2 separate regions of the Homo sapiens genome follow, and region 1 is linked to region 2. Evidence: promoter capture Hi-C in 16 types of primary human blood cells and fetal thymus (Javierre and others, 2016). All regions are on one chromosome and are shown on one strand. Each heading gives the region's core, a stretch centred on a gene start or on the middle of the fragment in contact. The rest is flanking DNA. Distances are from core to core; before and after follow the strand shown.

The links. Contacts are between HindIII fragments. The CHiCAGO score rates a contact against its expected background, and 5 or more counts as called.
Region 1: a contact is called between a fragment that was not itself captured here and the fragment with the promoter of ALOX5AP in region 2, in 1 of 17 cell types (fetal thymus). The highest score is 5.0, in fetal thymus.

Annotation. Positions count from the first base shown.
Region 1 is chr13:30,120,511-30,124,714 of GRCh38, reverse strand. No RefSeq gene overlaps it. Among named protein-coding and RNA genes, the nearest start is that of LINC00365, 14 kb to the right of the region's middle. The HindIII fragment of the contact is 3,577 bases long and covers 706-4,204 here.
Region 2 is chr13:30,733,564-30,737,465 of GRCh38, reverse strand. It overlaps ALOX5AP (arachidonate 5-lipoxygenase activating protein), which reads right to left and starts at 1,923. Exons shown (of 5, transcript NM_001629.4): 1 at 1,791-1,923. The coding sequence starts at 1,860. All of the region lies in intron 2 of LOC124903146 (a long non-coding RNA gene), which reads left to right. The HindIII fragment of the contact is 8,013 bases long and covers 202-3,902 here.

The DNA of each region.
Region 1 (4,204 bases), core at 1,245-3,744, 610 kb after region 2:
TCCCATCTGGTCTTCAGACTTCCGTCTTACTTGTCTTTCCTTCAAAGGCCGTCTCTGTATCTCACCCAGGGAAAGCATTACTGCTTTCAAGGCCCTGGCTGCACACTGTCCATGCGTACATCACCTACTCAGTGCTGGGTGCATGCCAGGCTCCACTCTGTGCCCAAGGAGACCTGTGAGTGCCCAGACAGATGGTTCCCTGCACTCCCAGAGTGAGAGGAGGAGACGATAAACAAGTAAAATATGCAGAGACGTGAAATCACCAGCGGTTTGAACAAGTGCGCTGCACGTGATGCAGAGGCTGGTGTGGTGCCTGGGTGGTGCCCCAGTGGGGACGGGTGGTCAGGTCACCTCTCTGGAGCAGGGCTGTTCCGTCTAAGGTCTAAATCATGAGGTGAGCCATCCTGTTGAGGTGGCAGCAGCTCAACCCAGGCAAAGGGAAGAGCCAGCGCCGGGACGGCAGACCAGAATGAGACCTGGGAGTGCCAGGGGAGAGTAAGGGGCGGGAGGAGAGGGTCGGGCTGGAGGTGGATGTGGCAGGAGGGCTAAGGTGTCCTGAGCTCCCATCAGGGCTGGCCTCTTACTCAGAGAACTGCAGCAGCCACGGTGGGTGCAAAGCAAGGGAAAGACATGGCAGAATTTACTTTTTGAACATAACTAGTGGCTACTGTGGGGAATAGATTTTAGGGGACTTATTAATAAGCTTTGCCATGGGAAGATACGTCCCCAGGTTTACCAAAGCCTACCATGGTTCACATGTGAGTTCTTGCTCACATTTCTGGAGAGCCAAGGGCCCTGCTGTGCTCCAGCTGCCTTCTCTCCCCAGGACCAGGCTGAAGGGGGAGCCCCTGACACAGGTGGAACCAGGGCCCACGAGCCCTGCCACCCGCAACCAAAGCAAGTCCCAAGGCCCAGGCCAAAGTGGATGAGGCTGAGAGGGACAGTCCTTTCAGCAAGAATGAAGGGGTGCATGGCTGCGAACCATGACATGGCCACCCAGGGAGGCAGGCGGGACCCAGGAGCCAGGGAGAACATGGCTGTTCGATGGAGGATGACGGTGGCTTAGGCCCCATGAGGAGCCTGGCGATGGACAGAGGAGAAAGCTCGGAGGATGTTTGAGAAGTCAAGTCAATATATACCGTGTGGAAAGGGCTATCGGGAGAGAGGAGAATCAAGAATAACTTCAGATTTTTGGAATGAGTCATCGAGTGGATGGTGGTGCCACTCACAGAGACAAGGATGGCCAAGGTCAGCTTGGTCATGTCAGTGAAGGCGCTCATGAACCGTCTACATGGAGACCTCCAGGAGGCTGCTGGGCCCCAGAGCTGCAGTTTTGAGGGAATAGGGGAGAGACGACCGACTGCCTGCCTTCGTTCAGGTTTCCTGCCCATCCTCATGTGTCCTTTCAGAGGAGGAGAATTTCTGAACATCTGATGCCATGGAGGTGGAAGGAGCTGGTATTTTTAAAGTAGGAAGTATTAGGAAGTAAAGTTAAAATATTTATGAGTTTTCAAGGTATTTATAGTTGTAGGTTCCTTTGTGAGCTTAGGAGCACACAAGTCAATGAAGGAGGGCTTGTAGGCAGAGGCCGGCCTGGTGTGGGGTGGGCTATTGGAGCCCAAGCACTGTGACGGCTGTCCTTGGCAGGGTGGGAATCAGAGTAGGGAGAGGAGGACGAACCTCCCCAGGGAAGCGGGCCTGATGTGGGTGTCCCCACAGGCAGTGTGAGTGCAGGGTGCGTGGTTGTGGGGATGGGGGTTGGCCACCTACAAGGGGATTGGTCAAATGAAGGGATATATTAAGGTTAATAGGAATCCAGCTTCTCACTGTCAGGGAAAGGAGGAAAACTAGAGTTTCCAGTTGGATTAGAATTGGAGGTATTTGTGGGATCTCACAGTTTTCAATAAATAATGTATTCATCTTCTTGGGCTGCTCTCACAACATACTGCTGATTTAGTGGCTTAAACAACAGATATTTATTTTCTCACAATTATATTAGACACTATAATTTGGTAGTTAAGCCATTTTTAAACTATAACTTGGTAGCTATAGTTTAAAAATACTTCCTCATAAAATAATGATTATAACAAAGAGGAAATGAGTGATCTTCCAGAGAACATGACTGACACCAATCTAATGAGGTGATTAAAGTGAACATTATTAGTAATAGGACAAATCAAAATTTCCTGCCGCCTGATAGGATGCAATGAGAACACAGCATTGCATTTGTGAGATTTCTTCTGAAGATGTCTAACCTGTATGCAATCACAAGGGAACGTCACACAAACCCAATATGAGTGACATTATACTAAATAACTAGCTTGTCATCTTCAAAGTGTGGAGGTCTTGAGAGACAAGAGAAGACTGAGGAACACTTCCAGTCTGAAAGAGACCAAGGAGACAGAGCCTGCTAAGTGATTCAGAACCGGGTCCTTTATCTAGAGTGGGCCAAATGATGAGGCTTGAATGGGGTCCAGGGTTCTAATGCATCAACATTAATTTCCTATGTTGGTGGTGGCACGTGGCTATGTAGATGCAAGTCTTTGTTTGTAGGAAATATGCATGAAAATATTCAGGGGGCTGGTGCAGCAGATCGGCTATGCTGCTTATTCTCAAATGGTCCAGGAGCAAGAAAAGCTCTTTGAACTGAGCTTATAGTTCATGACTTAATAAAAAGTTTAAGACTATTTTATTCATATTTCATAAATCATAAAGCTGAGAGACCTTTCAGTCTAAATCACCTAAATTTTAGAGATGAGAAAACTCAGGCCCAAAGAACTTAAGTGAACTCCCCAAGGTCCCACAGCTAGTTAGTGAGGAAGCCAGCCCTGGTGCCCTTGCTTCCTGTGGGCTGGACCACAGAATGTTCCACTACATGCCCCTGAGGCTAGGGGACACCCAAGAGAAGAGGAATCATGAAAGCAGTTTATCTAGAGCTGGAAGCTCAAATTCATGGATAAAGATATTCAAGCACAGAGAAGCTAGGTAGCTTTACTGGACTTAGTTCCTTTACTGTGTATCTGGTACTACTTACTCTGCCCACATGTAGTCATCCTTTTCACAGGGATCATGCCAACGCTTTGCTAAAAAATGCAATCCTATGTCTAACGAAATTCCTTGACCTGCTAGTTTGGTAGCTGTATACAATTTATTCAAAATGTTGTGTCATATTTAGGTTTATAACCCATAATAGACTCTTCATGGTACCACTTTCTTTACTTCTGCTCATAAGTCATCTACTTAACACTCAGTTCTAGAATTGCCTTGGCAATGGATATAGCACTTGAGTTCTGCTTAGTTTGTTCTTAGAAGCACATGGTTGGGTTCACCACATTCTTCAGTTCATGATGCACTGGATCATTGGCTCCTCAGAGCCCCATCTCATTCATTCATGTGTGCAGGCAGGCATTTATTTTATTGGCCTCCATTCCCCATTTCTTTTCTCCTGTCCCTCACAGGCAACTATTCTAATGTGTTCCCTGTTTGTAGTTATCAGCATGTGTTCTCTCAAAAACAAAGTGTTTAAAGGCACATATCGTTGAAGGCACACAAACATCCTCTAGCTCATCACTTCTCATTTCTTGACTCAACACTATCCTTTCAAAGCTCCGTTCATGTTGCCGCGTGTACATGTCGTCTGTTCCTCCCAACTCTGATAGAGTATTTCAGAGTGTACCTTTTTCACTTGTGCTCCTCCACCTCCATGGATGACACCTACTGCCACAGAAAGAACTGCAGCAAGTCTCTTTGTGCATGGTCCCTTAGGGTGTGTGGAAGGATTTTTTCTATGATTCATGTCCAGGGGTGGTATTGTTGGGAAATAGAAGACAGGTACATTTAATTTGATGAAGTATTGCTCTCCAAATTGGCTGTACCAGTCTACAAACCCCCAGCAAGGCCCAAGAATTCCAACATTCCTACATCCCCACCACCACTTGACATTATCCAGTTTCCTGGTTTTGGCCAGTTGAGTGAATAGAAGTGATATCTCATTGCTATTTAATTTGTATTTCTCTACTAATGAGTTTAAACATCTCTTCACATGCCTGTTATTCAGGGGGGTTTCCTCTCCTGCAAATTGCCTCTTCTGAGCCTTTGTTTTTTGAGCAGAGGGGGTTTCCATCATTTTTGTTGATTTGCAAGGTTCTTGCATATTTTAGATACTGTTTCCTAGTTATTTTTGACATTGCAAGTGTCTTCTCCC
Region 2 (3,902 bases), core at 674-3,173:
TTGTCCCACAGAAGAAGACTTAATCCTATCTGTCAAAAAGAATTCGAAATCTCACCACTCACCTCAATCTGAACAGGGTTTGCTAGACCATGATGGCAAAGTCCAGGAGAAAGCCCTGGGCAGAGCAGGGCCAGTTCCCTGGTGCACCTCCATTAGGAGAGGTGAGGAGAACCTGTCCTTGAAACAGAGAGCTCTGAAGCTTCCCACAGTTCAGCTCTGAATTGAGAGGGAGCTGGAGAGAGTGAGCTCAAACTTCGTAGCTGGGTTCAGCCCCAACTGCACAGGCAGGGAGGGGGCACAAGGTCCCCTGTCCACCGATGCTCCTCAGTTTTATTGATGGGTGTCAGGGGAGAGGCCAGAGGGGAGATCCTTCCAGAGCTGAATAAGTGCTAGCCACCTGCCCACCCATACAGCTACCTTTGCAGAGACTGCAGGCATTGCTGCAGGCTGACCTGTCCATCACTGTAGCTGTTTTGTTTCCTGCTCTATCCGCCTGTACCCAGAATACTATCTGGGCCAGAGCAGGGTCTCTGTACATGTATGCGGGTTGAATAATGGAATCCTTGCCAATTTACAGGGCCAAGGGAGCCCTGTGTGAAATCATAATGGCTCAAGAAAATGGTGGCCTAAATAAGCCATTTGTTCCCTCTCTGAGCTACAACTTTGTTGTGTGTAATTTAGTATAAAAATGTTTGGGTCAGAAAGCCACAAAGTGTAGTTCTTGTAGAAAACATACTTGGAGTGTGTGAAGCTGAGCCTTTCTGGTGCAGAGGCTGAGGGGGAGGCTTGCTCTGTGCCCAGAAGGCTACATCACCAGCATCTGTCCACACTCAAGATGGGGGAAAATAGAATATCCCAAAGTGATTAAATACTCAAAGTTCCAAAAACGTGACAGCATGTCAATGTTCAGTAATCACCATAAAGCTACAGCAGCTGCCCTTAGTAATTACTCTTTTTTTCTCTATCTTAATAAATATAAAACACAAAGCCACTGGAGATAGTTATGAAAGTGGTCTGAGGCAGCCCTAACTCAGAACTTTAGGAAGACAGCTCTACACAATTCTCCCTTTTCCAGATCTAGGTATCCTGCTTGTTTTTTGTTGTTGTTGTTGTTTTTAACTAATAGCAGGAATAATGGAAATGCAAACGCTGAACAGGACAATTTTCCTCTCTCTCTCTCTCTTTCTGAAGTATACACTGCATATGAAAAATGCTTCCAAAATTATACGTGCTAGAGAAAAAGAAGGTATCACCAAAAAAAAAAGTTTCTTCAGGAGAAAAAAAGAAAAAAGTAATATAGAGGAAAAATAATAAGATGATTTTTTCTACGCACCTCCCAAAATCACTTTCTTTTTAGACTGCAGATGACTGGTAACTTCAATTGCACTGCAGATGTTAGAAAAGCCCAGTATCTGAGTAAATGTGTATATCATGTTCCCTTTCTAGTCTTCTCACCTTCCACCCCTTGCCTGGCCACATTAATTAATAGTTAAAATGCTGATCATAGACACTTCGGTGAGGGTTTTAGCAAAACCTTCAAGTTGCAGCCCTGGCTCTAAAAATGGGACTGGTAATCACCACAAAAGTGAAAGACTAAGAGGAGGAAAACCCCAAATTTACACAGAAATACACACAACCCTATACATTCAAATAAAAAGAAGAAAATAAAGATAAGGTAAAAGTGTTTGTGCATGCGCACACACAGACACAATTGTTTAAGCCTGACTTCCAAACAACCATCAAAGAAAATCTCCCCTTCTGTTCTTCCCTGAGTGAAGGGCTTTCCTTACCATTCTGGACCACGCTGATGAGGGTGACGATGGCCAACAGGACAACATTGCCTACAGTTTCTTGATCCATGTTTGCTTCAGGCTCCCCAGAGAGGACTGCTCTGCCTCCAGCTGCACAACCTGCCCTGTACAGGAAGGGGAAGTGAGAGCTTGCACTCTTTCATCATTACAATTTCTGAAGATCCCCGGCACAATTACACAGTGCCTTCTTCTTCCTTTTTTTTTTTTTTTTTTTTTTTTTAACTAACCACCAAAATGCCCTGGCTGTGGTTCAGTGTGTCCCACCAGGAGAAGCAGGGCTTGGCAGAGGAGCACGCAAAGCCAGCACACTCTCCTACATTTCCTTGTCATGGGAAACTTCCCTGAGAGTCTCCAGAATGAATCCTGGACCCAAGACCATGACCAGCACGAGCCCAGCACAGGCACCAGAGAATCTGGAAGCTGCCATCATCTCTGACTTCAGCAAAGAGAAAGAAGGGAAAGTAAACCCAAAACTTTCAGGTCAGACAGAGTGGCATAAACCTGTAACCCCAGCATTTTGGGTGGCTGAGGTGGGAAGATTGCTTGGGCCCAGGACTTTGAGGCTACAGTGAGCCAATGATTATGCCACTGCACTCCAGCCTGGGCAACAGAGCAAGACTGTCTCACACACACACACACACGCACACACAAATGTAAAATGAAACTTTAAAAAAATGTATAGAACACCAAAAGATCTGTGCCCCAAATACTGTCCTTCTTTTTTTGAATTCCAAGAAAAAAAGTGAACACTTAACACACGGTAAGTAGCAGCCACATAAGGTTTGAATGAAGGAAGGAATAAATGGCAGTGGGGAGGGACAGCTGATATCTCCATTTCTTCAGAGAAAAGTAATAAAGGGAATTCATAAATTAAACCAAAGAATTCAAACCAAACCAAAGAATTCAGGTAAAAGGCAGAAATGGAGTTACAGATGATCCCTAAGGGAAATTCCCAAAGGGAACTGACTTTTCTGAGGCAATCGCAGAAACACCTTCCTGGAAATTCTTTTCAACTGAATAAGAGTAGAGTGGCTGTGCTTTCTGAGAAAGTATAAGAGTGGACCTGCTGGGTGGGTGAGGTGGCTGCCTGGTATTCTGCAGCTCAGATCAGTGTGAATGGCAATCCCTCTGAGGTTACATGGAAAATGCAAAATACCTGCAATCTTTGTCCCAGACTTAGCTATTTGGCATTGGTTAAGAGGTGCTTTTATCAAAACTTCACTTTGAAAGGGAACATGGACCACTGTAACTAGTGGCAGCAGGGAGGGCTGCATCTCGGCACGGAAGAGGTCAGTGTAGGGGAAGATATTGCTCCCTCATAGGTACAGTGCCAGAGGCCCGCTTCAATGCCCTCGGTTCAGCTGAGAGAGAAAGGCTGATGAAGGCAGCGTGCAGAGTTGTGTGCGGGGAAGCCAGCAGCCAGGGCTGTCGGGCTGGTCATGACACACTTGGGTACTCCCTGAGTACCTAGGGCACTTTGTAGAGTATAGACTTTATATTAGCCAAGGCTCTCCAGAGAAACTGAACCAATATATAAATAAGTCTCCTCATATATATATATTGCAGATTTATAATAGAAATTGGTTCACATGCTCATGGACACCATGAAGTTTCATGGTTTGCCATCTGCAAGCTGGAGACTCAGAAAAGCTGCTGGTGGAGACCAGTCTGCATTCAAAGGCCTGAGCATCAAGGAGGGCAATGGTGCAAGACCCAGTCTGAATCCAAAAGCTGGAGAACAAGGGGCTCCAGTGTCCAAGGGCAGGAGAAGATGGAGGGCAATGGTGCAAGACCCAGTCTGAATCCAAAAGCTGGAGAACAAGGGGCTCCAGTGTCCAAGGGCAGGAGAAGATGGATGGCCCAGCTCAAGAAGAAGAGGGAATTTGCCCTTCTGCCCGCTTTTTGTTCTATTCAGGCCCTCAGTGGATTGATGACACCCACCATATTGGTGAGGGTGGGAATTCTTTACTTAGTCCGCTGATTCCAGTGCTGATCTCTTTCAGAAACACCCTCCCTAACACACCCAGAAAAAAACATTTTACCAGCTACCTGGGCATTTTTTAGCTCAATCAATTTGACATAAAATTAACT